Linked DNA regions of Homo sapiens: region 2 is linked to region 1. The links are contacts of gene promoters, found by promoter capture Hi-C in blood cells and fetal thymus (Javierre and others, 2016). All regions are on one chromosome and are shown on one strand. The core of a region is centred on a gene start or on the middle of the fragment in contact, and the rest is flanking DNA. Distances in the headings are between cores, read along the strand shown. Region 1 holds the start of PSMD6-AS1 (PSMD6 antisense RNA 1). Region 2 overlaps RPL14 (ribosomal protein L14).

The links. Contacts are between HindIII fragments. The CHiCAGO score rates a contact against its expected background, and 5 or more counts as called.
Region 2: a contact is called between a fragment that was not itself captured here and the fragment with the promoter of PSMD6-AS1 in region 1, in 1 of 17 cell types (total CD4 T cells). The highest score is 6.9, in total CD4 T cells.

The regions. Positions count from the first base shown.
Region 1 is chr3:64,006,045-64,013,856 of GRCh38, forward strand. It overlaps PSMD6-AS1 (PSMD6 antisense RNA 1), which reads left to right and starts at 5,920. Exons shown (of 2, transcript NR_189168.1): 1 at 5,920-5,998. PSMD6 (proteasome 26S subunit, non-ATPase 6) reads right to left here. Exons shown (of 8, transcript NM_014814.3): 6 at 7,395-7,563; 7 at 4,834-4,911; 8 at 4,507-4,720. The coding sequence ends at 4,624. PSMD6-AS2 (PSMD6 antisense RNA 2) reads left to right here. Exons shown (of 3, transcript NR_038286.1): 1 at 1-24; 2 at 3,653-3,709; 3 at 5,753-6,199. The HindIII fragment of the contact is 1,623 bases long and covers 5,024-6,646 here.
Region 2 is chr3:40,459,270-40,467,081 of GRCh38, forward strand. RPL14 (ribosomal protein L14) reads left to right here. Exons shown (of 6, transcript NM_001034996.3): 4 at 2,138-2,237; 5 at 2,339-2,392; 6 at 2,670-7,812. The coding sequence ends at 2,963. Among named protein-coding and RNA genes, the nearest start is that of RPL14, 5.8 kb to the left of the region's middle. The HindIII fragment of the contact is 216 bases long and covers 2,485-2,700 here.

The DNA.
Region 1 (7,812 bases), core at 4,670-7,169:
AGGAGCAGTAGAGTAAAAAGAGAGGTAAGGGAAGGCATTGAGATGGTTTACAGGGTTAGATGTTTTGAGTCAATCCCATTATAATTACCAATGCTATCTACCTATTTAGTTAACGTTTTATTGCCCTGCTGTTTTCTCCAGGATAATTGGAACAGCATGTATTGGTTGGGTGGAAAAGATAGAACTTGAGCAGGGAGATTGCCAAAGAGTGAAGATGTGGCTGAGTGATTGATGATGGTCTGAACTGGGTATTCAGGGAAGAGAACTAGAAGCCAACCATGTAGAATCTATGCAGGTGCTCTTAAGACATTGGTTTGACTGGAATTATCTTCTTGTTAGGTCTTAGGAATCTCCTTCCAGGTAACTTTTTCTATGATTAGACAATTGATTTGTTCAGGGTCACAGAGCAAAGTCCACATTTAATTCCACATGGCCAATAAAAGTGAGGGGCTACAAGGTGAGATCCAGGGGCCAGAGTTATCAAAGTGATACAGCACTTTTAGGAATAGGACAGGGAATGGAGGAATTGGAATTCCAGTATTACTTTCAAAAGCAGAACTGGCCAGAGGAATTGGAATTCCAGTATTATTTTCAAAAGCAGAACTGGCCAGAGGTGCTTGTGATTCCTGGGTGGAAACCATGGCAGTGGACAGAAGCAGCATGGAGGAAAAGAGCACTGGAATTCAGGCTGAGGAACTGTGAAGCCAAGGGTGTTGTATAGGTTGTCCATTTCAAATTAGGGTTGCTTGGTTCTGGGATGATTTGCATGGAAGAGGGGAGAGTGACTTGGAGATGTGTGATTGAGGACAGTGAGCACAGTGAGTTGATGGTGTTGCTGGGTTATAAGCAGCTTCAAAGAGAAGGCATTTTGAATGAAGGTGGAAACATAATGGCCAGGAGAACAAGCAAAGGACTAGGAAACAGTGAACTTCATCTTGGCCTCAAGTTCCTGAGGTGCATATGAATAAACAGTCTCTAACCCAGAGGGTTTCAAGAAAAGCAGAGTCCTCAAAATCCAAAGGTAGAGTTTCCCCACATTGATATTATACTAATTACACGTATAACAGTACTTTGGAAAAGCACAGGTCTCTGGTCACCTCTAAAAGGCAAGGTTGGTAAGGAGGTCAGGGTGTCACCTGTTGGTAGTCTTAACTAAATGGTCTCTTCAAGGGATCTAAGGATGGAAAGGGGATATATAATGGTTGGATTAAAGGCTCATCATTGATTAGCAAATTGTCCCTTTTGTTTCTTAAACCCAATTTGTACAGGGAAAGTTATGCCACTGTAAGATATTTTTAAATGGGGAAAAAAAAAAAAAAAAAAAAAAGGTTATACCCTTTGACCATGTATGTCAAGGTTAAAATGGCCTGGATCAGATTGCTACAAATTCCTGATAGCCTTTGTATTCCTTCAGAAACACAAGCATAATGCAAATCTGTGGCTCTACAGCTTTGAAACCAAAACTAGTGATTATCAGAGCTTTTCATGTTATCCAGATGGGGATTTTACCCCACTCCCCCATTGCCATTGTGGAGGCACAGGTTTGTTACCAGCAACTACAAGTTTATGTAGCATTGGGAAGGTCAGGGATTATCATAGTTCCCTCCACGCTTTTTCCCCCATAATCATGGGGGCAGATATTTCAGCTGTCAGCTGTTCATCTTAAAAACATTAGGTTAACAGCAGCACCAAGGACTAATTCAGAATATGAAATTACAGAAATGATTTGCTAATGATTTAGTAGCCTTTTATCAGTTAATGTTTGGTCAGGTTATAAAAGACCAAATGTGTTCAGTCACAAAATCCTAAGTGTATTGAGTATTGCATGCTTAGTGATCAAGTTGTAGGCATCCTTCTAGCCATCTGGGGCAGGTAAAAGTTGGGTGCTTAACAAAAGTGGTTTTTACACTGTTTCTGTCCTAAGAGACACTGTTTTTTAATAGCTTAAAAATTGACCTAAAGCTGTTATTTCTAATACAGGAAATAGATTACCATAATTTGACATAGCTTTAAAATATTTAGCTCTTACTCGATAGATTTGCTATAAAATCAACTTTTACTGAGGTAAGAGAAACTGGCATTTCTGCTTTAAAAATAATCACAAAAGATAGTTTATCCTGGCGATATCATTTCACACTAGGATAGTTACTTTTGACTGAAACCAGGGTTAAAAATAAGATTGTTTCCCACTTCAAAAGAAAACATTTACCAACATGAAAAAGGAACTATGTATAACTGTTTTAGCATCATTTCATAATCTTATTTTCATATTGTGAAGTAACCTTCTTGAATAAAAGCAGAAAATTAAGACTTTCAGAAAACAAGCTGTACCAGTTAAAGCTACTAGAGACAGGATAAAGGTTAGGAATTCTTTGGATAGTTTCTCCTAGCTCAAGCTTGTCCAACCCAGAGCCCACAACAGCTTTGAATGTGGCCCAACACACATTTGTAAGTTTTCTTAAAACATTATGAGCTGTTTTGTTTTGAGCTCATCAGCTATCCTTAGCGTATTTTGTGTCACCCAAGACAATTCTTCCAGTGTGGCCCAGGGAAGCCAAAAGATGGGACACCCCTGTCTTAGTTGATTAACACAGGAGGCTGTTAACCATCAACCTCACATGCACAATATTGGGGGTAGTGCAGGGATAACAAGCTCAAATGCCAGCAGGGGCCAGGCAGACAGGCAGTGTATATGAACAGACTGGGTGGACTGGGGCACACTGGAAAACACGCTATGCTTGTCGCTCAGCTTATTGGAGCGTGAGTCCAGATTTAGCTTCACCTGTCCTTTTTCCAGAGAAGCTAGATATGTGGTTTTTAAACTGTCAACTTTTACGTGGTAACTATAAATTTTTTTCTTGGAAAAGTATTTAGGGTGTGTCAATTGCCGCCTGTGGGTGAACAACTGCAACTCTGTAGCATTCAGAAGCCACCTTTGCATTCCTGACTAGCTTTGGTTTTCTGTAGAAAACCAAAAAGCTGAGGTTTTTTTCCTTTAAGAAATGTTTTCTAGATAAGCATTTTTAGAAATTCATAGGTGGATATTCTCAAATACATTAGGCATAGTCAGCATTTTAAAAGCCTCCCCTCCACAATACAGTGCCTACAGGAAACTCCTTTCAAAACAGAGATCTAGCCACATTGCTTTCCTTGGCATACAACCAATGGCTCTTCTTCCAGCGATGAGAGCTGCTGTCTTCACTTTTAAGATAATGCTTCTAATATTTTGCCATTAATTACCTTGTGATAGGGCTTTGATATCCCAACCTATTATTCATAGTCTACTGAAGAGTTTTTTTATCATGAAGAAATGTTGAATTATATCAAATTATTTTCAATCAAATGAGATCATGTTAACAGGAGTATGTTATTCCTGTTAGGAATTCCATATTAGGAATATGTTATTCCTAATATGTTAACAGGAATCATTCCCATCAGTAAATGTTATTTAAAGCAAAAAAACTCAAAACTCTTCTTTCCTTCCCTTGCCTTTTACAGTAAAATGCCATTTCCCATTCTCTTCTGAACTCACCTCTACCAAAACTGCTCATTAAGGTCACTAGCTGTCTTTCACTTAAGCCAAAAAGCCTAGGATCTCCTCTGACAAATTTTCTCCCCCTCATCCTCCTCACCCCATTCTTCAATCTTTTAGCAAATCCAGCTGCCTGTACAATCCATGCCACCGAATGCCGTAAGTGAGACGTAAAAGGTAAGCCAAATCCGCACTTAAAATTGCCAGTGACTTTCCTCGTCTTTCTTCCCTCCATACGTTCATGGGCTCTCCCTCCTTTTCACTTAAATGTCACCTTACCATAGAAGCCTTCCACAACACCTCAGAAGACGGCCTATACCCTGTATCTCTATCTATCTATCTATCTATCTGTCTGTCTATCTGGTTTTATACTTCTTATAGCACTTATTCCTATCTGACACACTGAATAAAACTGATAAAACTAATAAACTGTTTCAAACAAACAGAGGAACAACTTTGTTTTCCTCACTGCTATTATTACTATGGTCCTACTTTTGGAAAAAAGATTCAGTTTGCTAATAAATACTTACATATAAGGTTTTAGAAAACTGAGATCAGCCTTGGTAGATTCTGTAATCCAGGTTATGTCAGCTTCCTAAAAAAGAGTAACTTCCTGCCTTATATGGTTACTTGTTTCTGAGGGAAAGCTTATTACACATTTTCTTTATCTTCTATCTTTTGTATACTAAAAGTGGGAGACACTGTTTGTTTAATTTTAGGCCACTACTCTTCTTTCTAAAATCGGGAAGCTTACAGGTAAGAGATTTAAAGGTAAGCGATAATGGGCTGTGTCAACATCCGTATTTTACTGACGTATTTTACTGATGAGGCAGTCAGGAGCTGAACCTAGCTGAACCCAGCTGCAACCTTACCCTATAAACCAGATTTTCATTAATGAATAATTCAAGTGACATTATTTTAACATAAGTGGACCCGATTCTAGAAGGCCTATGTGTTTAAGAAAAAAATAAATGGAAAGAAACAACAATGCAGTATTTATTTTATACAGCTGACCTGGGCACATTGTGAAGTAAGCTATAAAAATTCCAAATAATTATCTCTAAAGCAAATCCTTTGTTAGTTACATGGCTTTACATATTAATTACTCTGGAAAGTTTTTGAACTCTGTTTAGTAGCAGATCTCCTTTCTTGATAGTTTCTTGGTACTGCCAGTTCTTGCTATCAGGTCTATAAATAAATTCAAGAAAAAATGAATTATTTACCAGTCACATTATTCCATGACAATAGTTGACCTACTTTTAAAATTTAGGAATGCCCCTTATTCTGAGAAATGAGAGTACCTGTTGGTTTCTACTATTTCATTCACTTTATCTATTTTGCAGTGTAGTCTCCCGGCAGCAATAAACCTGGACAGTTCCCTAATTTAGAGACAAAAAATAACAGAATTAGCTTTATAGAAAATTCTTAGAAAAATGCAAACGGCATTAAAATACTGTCTTAAATTTGTAACAAACATTTAGCTTCCCTTCAAGCTTGTTATTGCACATGCAGTAGTTGACGTTGTCCCTCCTATACTGCAGGCTTTAAGTCATCATCTACTAGAATAAACATGATCCTAGAAGTTCATATTCAGATAGATAGAAAGTAGATCAAACAATGAAACCATATGTACTCAGAGAAAAACTGTAGGTTAGGAAAAATTAGGGACCAAAACTGATAAAAACAGTAAACTGTTTCAAACAAAAGACCTAAAACAAAATTATGGAACACAGCCCATCAGTAAACATGTCAACAGCAATAGTATTAACATGTCAACAGCAATAGTATTTACTAAAACAACGACCCTTTCCCTCTCTAACATATCTTAGTCTAAACAAGTGGAAGGGAAGGGGAGAAATGATGTAGAATTATTGCTTTGCCCATTTTAAAAAAGGGGATTTCATCTAAAATGTAACTTTTTAAGGGAGAAAAAAAGAATAAAGAATCCATGACAACCCAGATTTGAAATTCTTAGGTATCACAGAAATTTAAAACAAGGCCTTTTTAGGTAACAACAACTAGAGCTCAGTGGTACAACCTTTGCCTCTCAAGCTGGTCTTAGAACATGAAGGGAAAAAAAAAAAACTGAACAAATACTACCTGAATTCAACTACTACCTGAAAGGTACCAGCTGCCTTGCATTCACTTGTCATCAAGATGACTTAAGGAATACTGCGGTGTGTGCCCCTAACTAATGAAGGCTTTATCTCCACATTACAGTTACGATACTGAAGAGACGTAACCTGACCAAGGCCACAGAGCTGGAAAAAGAAGCAAAGCCAAGCCGTTTTTCTCATGCACTGCTCACAACAAGCCCCTCCTTCCACTGACTCATGAAAAACACACTCATAATGCCCAGCCCGCACCCTAATGAACAGCCCTCTTAAGAGTGGTCATCAGACTTCAATTTCACAGACTAGAATTGAGAAATGGAACAAAACCTTGGGATACCAGCCTTCCATTTTGGTAGGGATCATTTAAAAAATGGTAGGGATCATTTAAAAAATGTGTTGGTGTCTGAAACTTACTTTGAAGTGGTTAAAAAACATAAAATGTATAGATTGTAACAAGCAAATATGTTAAAATGTACTGTACAATTCTTTCTTTACAATTTTATGGATGTTCGAAATTTAAAAAATACTAGAAAGAGAATGGTCTTATTTAAAAGAAATGCATCTTCATTTAAAGTTTCCACTGCAGACCATTGAAAACACCATCATCAACATTTAAAAACACCTACATGTGGGAGCCACTGATCTAGATGCCATCTGGACATCCCATATTGAGTATGTCTCCTACCCAACTCTACTCTCACCACCCTCGTCCACGCCACGGTAACATCTCCTCTAAGAGCTACTAAACAGCACAACTGGTCCTCTCTGCCACCTTACTCTATTTCTTATATAAAGACACTGCATAGGACCATGTAACTTGGGCTCTAAATCTTCCAATGGCTCCCTATCAAACTTACTTAAAACTCAAGCTCCATCCCATGACCTACAAGGCCCTACACAAATCATTACCTACCTAACTCTCCATATATTATCCTCAAAATCTCCTACCACTCCAACTATGCTGGAGCCACCCTGACATTTTCTGTTCCTACAACATCCAAGCTTATTCCTGGCTCAAAGCCTTAGCCTTTTCTATTCCCTTTTCTGCACGCAGAAGGACTCCATATGGCTGACTCCTCTCAATTCAAATCTCAGAGCAAACCTCACCTCCTTAAGCATGCCGTACGTAAGGATAGCATTTTCTCATCTCCATAGGTTCATTTCTATATGTGAAATTACGTTTTATATTTATTTGCTTCCTTGCCATCTCTTCCCTACTACTACAATGAAAGTGTGAAAAGGGAGCTGTAAAACAATACCAAACATATAGTAATGAATGGCTCATTAAGTATTTATTTGTTTAATCACTGATGCAAGTACTAAAAGTCCCACATTTAACAACCAATCTGACCAGAATTGCAGCAGCAACCTAAAAACTGGAAGGAATTATCAGAGGGAATATGACCAACTGTAAATATCAGATCTAAGAGTCATTACCGTAGCTGCAGTGTGGTCTACAAAGAAGTAACAGAAGACAACTTTTGATAACAACTGGTCTAATGACCTTTAACAAATCACTTAGCCTCACTACAACTCATCTTCCCATCTGTTAATGCAAGGGGCAGACATGACATGAGGAAGGCAGAGGCAACAGGATACGAATGTTTTGATAATACTGAGGAAAAAAACCTCTCCCCTCCCCGTTAAGATTGAGGGAACCAATGTAAACAAGTAAAAAATTGTACAAGTTCACATATTTTAAAAGGCAACTTTAAAACTTCAATTAACATGGCATTATTCAAACTTACTGATCAATGAATTCCACACCAACACCAAACGCTTCTGCCATATAGCCAAGGGTTAATGACCTATATGATTCCAGCAGCTGACTGTATGCATGAATTCTCATTTCTCTTACATAGTATCGATAATGAGGGGCAAAAAGCCAGTCCTTTTTCATTTCCTGTTCCACAACCGCTGCAATGAATAAAATGACAAATTATAATAGACTCTCCGTTTCAGATAAAAAGATTAAAAACTAAAGCAACACTACTAGTTGAGTCCAACAGATAGATGAACAAGTATCAAATTTCTCACTGCCCTTCCACATCATGTCATCAACAATGGCAGCAACAGCAGTGATAAAGGAGGGGCCAGGTATGCAAACATCGTCTTCAAGTAACAGGTGGCTATTTGACATCACTATCAGAGCTCAGCTTCTAAAGG
Region 2 (7,812 bases), core at 1,343-3,842, about 24 Mb before region 1:
TCTTTTCTTCTGGTTTCTGCCAAATTTTTAGCTTAAAGTAAACAACAATACTAAGTCTTGTGTTTATTGCTACTAGCTATCATTAGATAAGCTCTCAGTGTGTGTCAGTTACACAGTATTTAATATAAGAGGTTTTATCCCTAGCTTACATTTAAGTGAGGCAGTGAATAGCAGTTCTTTTTTGACATGAAAATTAAAACACTTTAGTGTGTTGCTATACAGTTAATTCAACCCACAATGATGGTTGCAGTGGAACATGTAATTTTGCATGCTTTAAAAAATAGTCAAAAACTTGCTGTATGTTGGCCGGGCGCGGTGGCTCACGCCTATAATCCCAGCACTTTGGAAGGCCGAGGCGGGTGGATCACGAGGTCAGGAGATGGAGACCGTCCTGGCTAACACGGTGAAACCCCGTCTCTACTAAAAATACAAAAAAAAAATATTCCGGGCATGGTGGCGGACACCTGTAGTCCCAGCTACTTCAGAGGCTGAGGCAGGAGAATGGCGTGAGCCCGGGAGGCGGAGCTTGCAGTGAGCCGAGATCGCAACACTGCACTCCAGCCTGGGTGACAGAGCGAGACTCCGTTTCAAAAAAAAAAAAAAAAAAAAAACTTACTGTATGCTGAGCACTACAGGCACTGTGGGACGTGTATTAACACATAATGGATTTTGAAGTACTGGTAGTTGAAAACATGCCACTTGAACAACCTCGAGTGAACATAGCCATGCTGCTACTACTGTGACATACCAATTAGGGGTGAAGCTTGAGGATACTTGTCAAAGTTCAAAGCAGTAGAAAATACTTGGTAACTTAGATTTTTCACTAGGTACTCTTGTAATTCTGCCTTGGATCCCTGGACACCCTGGATTTTATTTTTAGGATGTTTGGCCACAAATTGTTACTGTAAATTTTTTTTTAAAAAAAAGCCTAACAGTTAATATTAATTACCTTGTTTGTTACGAGAATGAATGGCTCGGATGTGTGCAGTGGCTCATACCTGTAATCTCAGCACTCTGGGAGGCCAAGGCAGGTAGATAACTTGAGGTCAGGAATTTGAGACCAGCCTAGCCAACCCCGTCTCCACTAAAAGTCCAAAAATTAGCCCAGTGTGGTAGTGTACTCCTGTAGCCCCAGCTATTTGGGTGGATGGAACAGAAGAATTGCTAGAACCTAGGAAGCAGAGGTCACAGTGAGCCAACGTTGCGCCAGTGCATTCTCCATCCTGGGTTACAGAGCAAGACCCTGTCTCAAAAAAAGAAAAAAAAAAAGAATGGTTTTCAACACGTCCACTGCCCGAGTGGAATTATATATAGTCAGAGGTGGGTTTTTTGTGTTTTTTTTGAGGGTTTTTTTTTTCTTTTGACACGGAGTCTCACTTTGTCACCCAGGCTAGAGTGCAGTGACGCAATCTTGACTCACTGCAACCTCAGGCTCCCAAGTAGCTGGGATTATAGGCACCTGCAACCACGCCCAGCTAATTTTTGTGTTTTTAGTAGAGATGGGGTTTCACTATGTTGGCCAACCTGGTCTTGAACTCCTGACCTCAGGTGATCCACCCATCTTGACCTCCCAAAGTGCTGGGATTACAGGTGTGAGCCACTGCGCCTGGTCAAGAGGTAGTTTTTAAATTCATAAAATGGGCTGGGCTGGGTGCAGTGGCTCATACCTGTAATCCCAGCACTTCAGGAGGCCAAGGTGGAGGGTTGCTTGAGCCCAGGAGTTGGAGACCAGCCTGGGCAACGTAGCAAGACCCTGTCTCTACAAAAAATATAAAAATTAGCTGGGTGTGCTGGTATGCACCTGTAGTCCCAGCTACTTGGGAGGCTGAGGCAGGAGGATGGCTTGAGCCTAGAAGGTTGAGGCTACAGTGAGCCATGATCATACTATTGCATTCCAGCCTGGGTGGCAAGCAAGATCCTCTCTCAAAAAAAAAAAGGGACTGGATTACAGTTTTGATTAAAATATGCTTGAAGTTAATAACCTATTCTGGCTTACTGAACACAAAAATAAGTAAAATACATAGTGTACCAGGTGTTGTGTAACAGGAAGAGTGCTTTTCAAGGAACAAAGAAAGTGTCTTTGATAATGAGTGACTTCAAAGCTGATTTCTTAATCTGTGGTCTTGGCTCGTTCTAGTGCCCACCAGAAGTATGTCCGACAAGCCTGGCAGAAGGCAGACATCAATACAAAATGGGCAGCCACACGATGGGCCAAGAAGATTGAAGCCAGAGAAAGGGTAATAACTTAGGGTCATTTGAATTCTGGTCCTTTCTTTTTTTGGAGGGTTCAAGATAGTGTGAGAGGGATAATTTTTATTTGTTGTTTTTTTTTTAACAGAAAGCCAAGATGACAGATTTTGATCGTTTTAAAGTTATGAAGGCAAAGAAAATGGTAAGATTTAAGATCTGTATTTTTGTGTAACTTAGCTTTAAATAATAAGGGAGCAGTAGCCAAATCCCATTTCAGGCTGCCAGCTTCTTGGAAGCTTTCTGTAAAAAAGGAGAATTTATCTTCATTTGTATTTCATGATGTCCCTATGGAATTGTTACCTTTCTTCAGATGTAGTTGTAGGGAAACAGACTACTTAATGCCCTTTCTAAAACCAGCATAAATTGGATTTTATTGTATGTATACACAATAAGTGCTTTCTTACATTGATAATTTTCAGAGGAACAGAATAATCAAGAATGAAGTTAAGAAGCTTCAAAAGGCAGCTCTCCTGAAAGCTTCTCCCAAAAAAGCACCTGGTACTAAGGGTACTGCTGCTGCTGCTGCTGCTGCTGCTGCTGCTAAAGTTCCAGCAAAAAAGATCACCGCCGCGAGTAAAAAGGCTCCAGCCCAGAAGGTTCCTGCCCAGAAAGCCACAGGCCAGAAAGCAGCGCCTGCTCCAAAAGCTCAGAAGGGTCAAAAAGCTCCAGCCCAGAAAGCACCTGCTCCAAAGGCATCTGGCAAGAAAGCATAAGTGGCAATCATAAAAAGTAATAAAGGTTCTTTTTGACCTGTTGACAAATGTATTTAAGCCTTTGGATTTAAAGCCTGTTGAGGCTGGAGTTAGGAGGCAGATTGATAGTAGGATTATAATAAACATTAAATAATCAGTTCCTTTTTTTTTTTTTTTTTTTTTGAGATGGAGTCTCGTTCTGTTGCTCAGGCCGGACTGCAGTGGCGCTATCTCGGCTCACTGTAAGTTCCACCTCCCGGGTTCATGCCATTCTCCTGCCTCAGCCTCCTGAGCAGCTGGGACTACAGGTGCCCGCCACCGCGCCTGGCTAATTTTTTGTATTTTTAGTAGAGACGGGGTTTCACCGTGTTAGCCAGGATGGTCTCGCTCTCCTGACCTCGTGATCCGCCCGCCTCGGCCTCCCAAAGTGCTAGGATTGCAGGCATGAGCCGCCGCGCCTGGCCTAAATAATCAGTTCTTTAATCTCACTCTCTGCCCATACTTGGATAGGTAGTGCAAAATCATTGCAGTCATAATTGATCATGTCATGAGAAATCATGATAACTTAGAACACCAAGTGACACAAGTGACATTTTTTTCTTATGGTCACCTTGGCTTCAGAACATCTTTTTTCCTTGTACAAATATGTTTGCCATAAATAGGTAAAGTGACAGCCTCTTGATGCTCAAGAGTCTAGCAGATTTATTTTATTTATTTATTTTTTTTTTTTGGAGACAGAGTCTTGCTGTGTTGCCCAGGCTGGAGTGCAGTGGTGCGATCTCAGCTCCCTCCACCTTCCGGGTTCAAGTGATTCTCCTGCCTTGGCTTCCCAGGTAGCTGGGACTACAGGCGCCCACCACCATGCCCAGCTAATTTTTTTTGTAGAGACTGGGTTTCACTATGTTGGCCAGGCTGGTTTTGAACTCCTGACCTCGTGATCCGCCTGTCTCGGCCTCCCAGAGCGGGGGATTATAGGCATGGGCCACTGCACTTGGCCTTTTTTTGTTTTTTTGAGACAGAGTCTTGATCTTATCACCCAGGCTGGAGTGCAGTGGCACGATCTTGGCTCAGCGCAACCTCTGCCTCCTGGGCTCAAGCGGTTCTCCTGCTCAGCCTTCTGAGTAGTTGGGACTATAGGTGTGTGCCACCACGTCTGGCTAGTTTTTGTATTTTTAGTGGAGATGGGGTTTCACCATGTTGGCCATGCTGGTCTCGAGCTCCTGACCTCAGGTGATACACCCGCCTTGGCCTCCCAAAGTGCTGGAATTACAGGTGTGAGCCACTGTGCCCGGCCTGCAAATTTTCTTATAAAAAGTAAACTAGGAAAATAGGGCAAGTATAAAAATTGCAGGTTGAGCATATTTCTAATCCAAAAAGCTCTAACCTCTGAAACTGAGCTATGACACTACAATTTAAAAATCCCTAGCCTACCCGCATGGTGGGTTATGGTCAAAATACAGGTACACAGCACTATTCAGTGTCCCTGAGGAAGAAATAGTTAACCTTCAGGGTACATGTATATGAAGCATAAATGAATTTCCTGTATAGACCTAGGTCCCATCCCCAAAGTGTCATGTATATGCACTTAACTCCAACATCAGAACACATCTCGTCCTAAGTGTTTCAGATAAGAGATACTTATCCTGTGTATAGTAGGTTGGACTTCTGTTTCTCTCTACCACAAGATACAGGTAATTTGGGGCAGTAAAAGATCCTGGATAGATTTAAAAATACTACAAAGCTGTACATGAAACAGGATTACTTTTTTTTTTTTTTTTGAGACAGAGCCTTACTCTTGCCCAGGCTGGAATGTAGTGGCACGATCTCAGCTCACTGCGACCTCCACCTCCCAGGTTCAAGTTGTTCTGCCTCAGCCTCCCAAGTAGCAGGGGTTAAATGCGTGTACCACCATGCCCCTCTAATATTGTATTAGAGATGGGGTTTTGCCATGTCAGCCAGACTGGTCTTGAACTCCTGACCTCAGGTGATCTGTCCGCCTTGGCCTCCCAAAGTGCTGGGATTACAGGCGTGAGCCACCGCTTCTGGCCAGGAATACATTTTAAATAAATTTGTTTCCTAACCAAAAGCTAGCTTCAGGCGTCACTGGGGTAAAGGAAAAAGCACATTGATTTGCTTGATAATAGGCAAGTGGTATGGTGTAATAAGGAAAATATGGATGATTTCGGATTACCTGTTCTACTCTGGGAGGTAGAGAATTGTCTAGAGAAAGTGGCATCTATACCTAAAATAAGAAGAAGGTGGTGTAAGGGGAAGAATGACACGAGATAGGAAATAAACGAACTGATAGTGTAGAGGACTGGCTCGGGACCACATCAAGGAAGTAGGTTAGTGGTTAGATCGTGTAGGGGAACACGGGAAGCTACTGAGGGTTTTTTAAAATGGCGTGATATCTCAGATTTAGATCATTGAACTGTTAAGACTGAATCTTATGGGATCAAGACTGGGAATGCTCGGGTTGGCAGTATGAAGTTTGGCAGTAATCCAAGGAAGTGACAGTGGTAATGCCATTTAGGTGGTCTTGATCATGCATTGGACTGCAGAAATAAGGGAGAAAACAATGTGTCAGGGTTTCTGGTTTGTACCTCTGGTTCATTGGTTGTGAGGGAACATGAGGCAGGGTAAAGTTTATCTAGGTAAAATGAGTTAGTTTTCATGTAGACTATCTGGGTGTATATGCAAAGACTGCAGACAATCTATACTAAAATCCTGGCTCTGCCTCTTGAAAGCTATGTAGTTTAGGCACATAGTCAAAATCCAGTTTCCTCATCTATGTGGTACGCTTCAGAGTAGTTAATCATGATATGTAGTCCAGTGACTGGTTCCCTTGGTAAGAGCTGTGATAATGACACAAGGAGGAGAGGTTTCAGGACAGACTTGGGATTCATGAATATGTAAGTGGTCACTGATTCCCCAGGGGTAGGATGACAACAATCAAGAGACGAATAGAGGTTGGAAAGGAGTCATGAGGGGTGGGAAACTAGCAGGGGCACATGGAAGCTAGGGAAAGAATTTTGCTTGAGATCGTCAAAGTGAGGGGAAGAGGGTAGTAAGCAAAGGAGAAATGTTATATGGGGTTCGGAGGTTTTGTGTTTGTAAATCTGGAGTGATGGGCATGTTCAAATGCTTCTGGGAAAGGAGCTAATAGGAGAGAAACTTAGCCCTTCGAAAAACAGGAAGGGATGGATCCTAGGGGAGAGGAGGAAGGATTGGCTTTAGAGGAAAGATGTCCTTTACGTGAGGAAAAGGAAGAAAAGGTGGGTTTAGATACTAAATCTGTAGGTTTGCTGTTAGGAAATTAAGGACTTTTCACCTTTATCTCTGAAATTTCTCTGGAGTTAGCAAGGCAAGGTCATACACTGAGAAGGAGGGATGAGGCAGTGTAGATTTGCAGACATACAGGTTGTAATTCCTTATGGAGGAAAGGGGAGAGCACTTTTGTCAGACTGCCTGTGGCTTTGAGAGCCCTTTGGCTACAGTCCATGAGGTGCTCAGAGGATGAGAAAGCTTCAGGGTAGAAGCAGTATTCAAGCTGCACCTAGAAAACAGTGCAATACAGAACAGTGGAAATTGGAAATTCCAATCTTGGAATCTCTAGGAAAGTAACTGAGGCATACGATGCCTGAAAAGGAGTAGAAAATAAAATTAATAAGGTGGGACCATATGATAAGAGATTTGAGGCCGGGCACTGTGGCTCACACCTGTAATCCCAGCACTATGGGAGGCTGAGGCAGGCGGATCACCTGAGGTCAGGGGTCCGAGACCAGCTTGGCCAACATGGTGAAACCCCGTCTTTACTAAAAATACAAAAATTAGACAGGCATGGTGGAGCATGCCTGTAATCCCAGCTACTTGGGAGGCTGAGGCGGGAGAATCGCTTGAACCCAGGAGGTGGAGGTTGCAGTGAGCTGACATTACGCCATAGCACTCCAGCTTGGGCGACAGAGGGAGACTCTGTCTCAAAAAAAAGACTTGAGCAAGGGCGTAATCTTCAGGAAGGTCAGTCTGGTAGCATAGTGTGGATTGGGTTGGGGGATGGGGAAGGAGAGCAGAAAATTATTGAAATATCCAGGTGCATAAAAGTCTACTTTGATTATGGAGAACTACACACTTGTTCAGTCACCCTCATTGGAGACGGGGGATGGCATACGAAAAGAATGCTGATTTCAGGCTGGGCACGGTGGCTCATGCCTTTAATCCCAGCACTTTGGGAGGCTGAGGCAGGTGAATCAGGGGTTCAAGACCAGCCTGGCCAATGTGGTGAAACCCTGTCTCTACTAAAAATCAAAAAAAAAAAAAAAAAAATGGCTGATTTCAGAGTCATATTCAGGTTTAAATTCTGTCATTCAGCCCAAACTCATTACTTTATGTTACTTATGGGAACCTCATCTAAAAAGCAAGGATCCTGATACCTGCCTCATATTGTGGCAAGGATCAAATGAGTCAAATAAGATGCTTGTGAAAGTGAGGACAGGATCTATCCTCAACACCTAGTGCAATTCTTTTTACACATTAGGTACTTAGTAATTTGGGTTGAATTGTGTTGAACTAACCTGGCGGTATAGGCAAAATTTGGAAGTTTGGTTTTCAGAAAGTCTTGACTTCCTCTTATCTCTAAGTAATTGGCATGTCCTCTAATTCATATTTTCCCCCCTCATCTGTTGGGTGAAATACTGTTTATCCTTTAGTACTAAAATTAAAAGTTACCTCATTCTTCTAGCTAGCTGATTTTTTTTTTTAATCTAGGCTAAATCATGAATACATTTACATTTAAATAAAATATTACAGTTGAAAGTAAAGGGTCCTTTCATTATCTCCACTTCCAATTCCAGTACCCTGTGTAAAGGAAAAC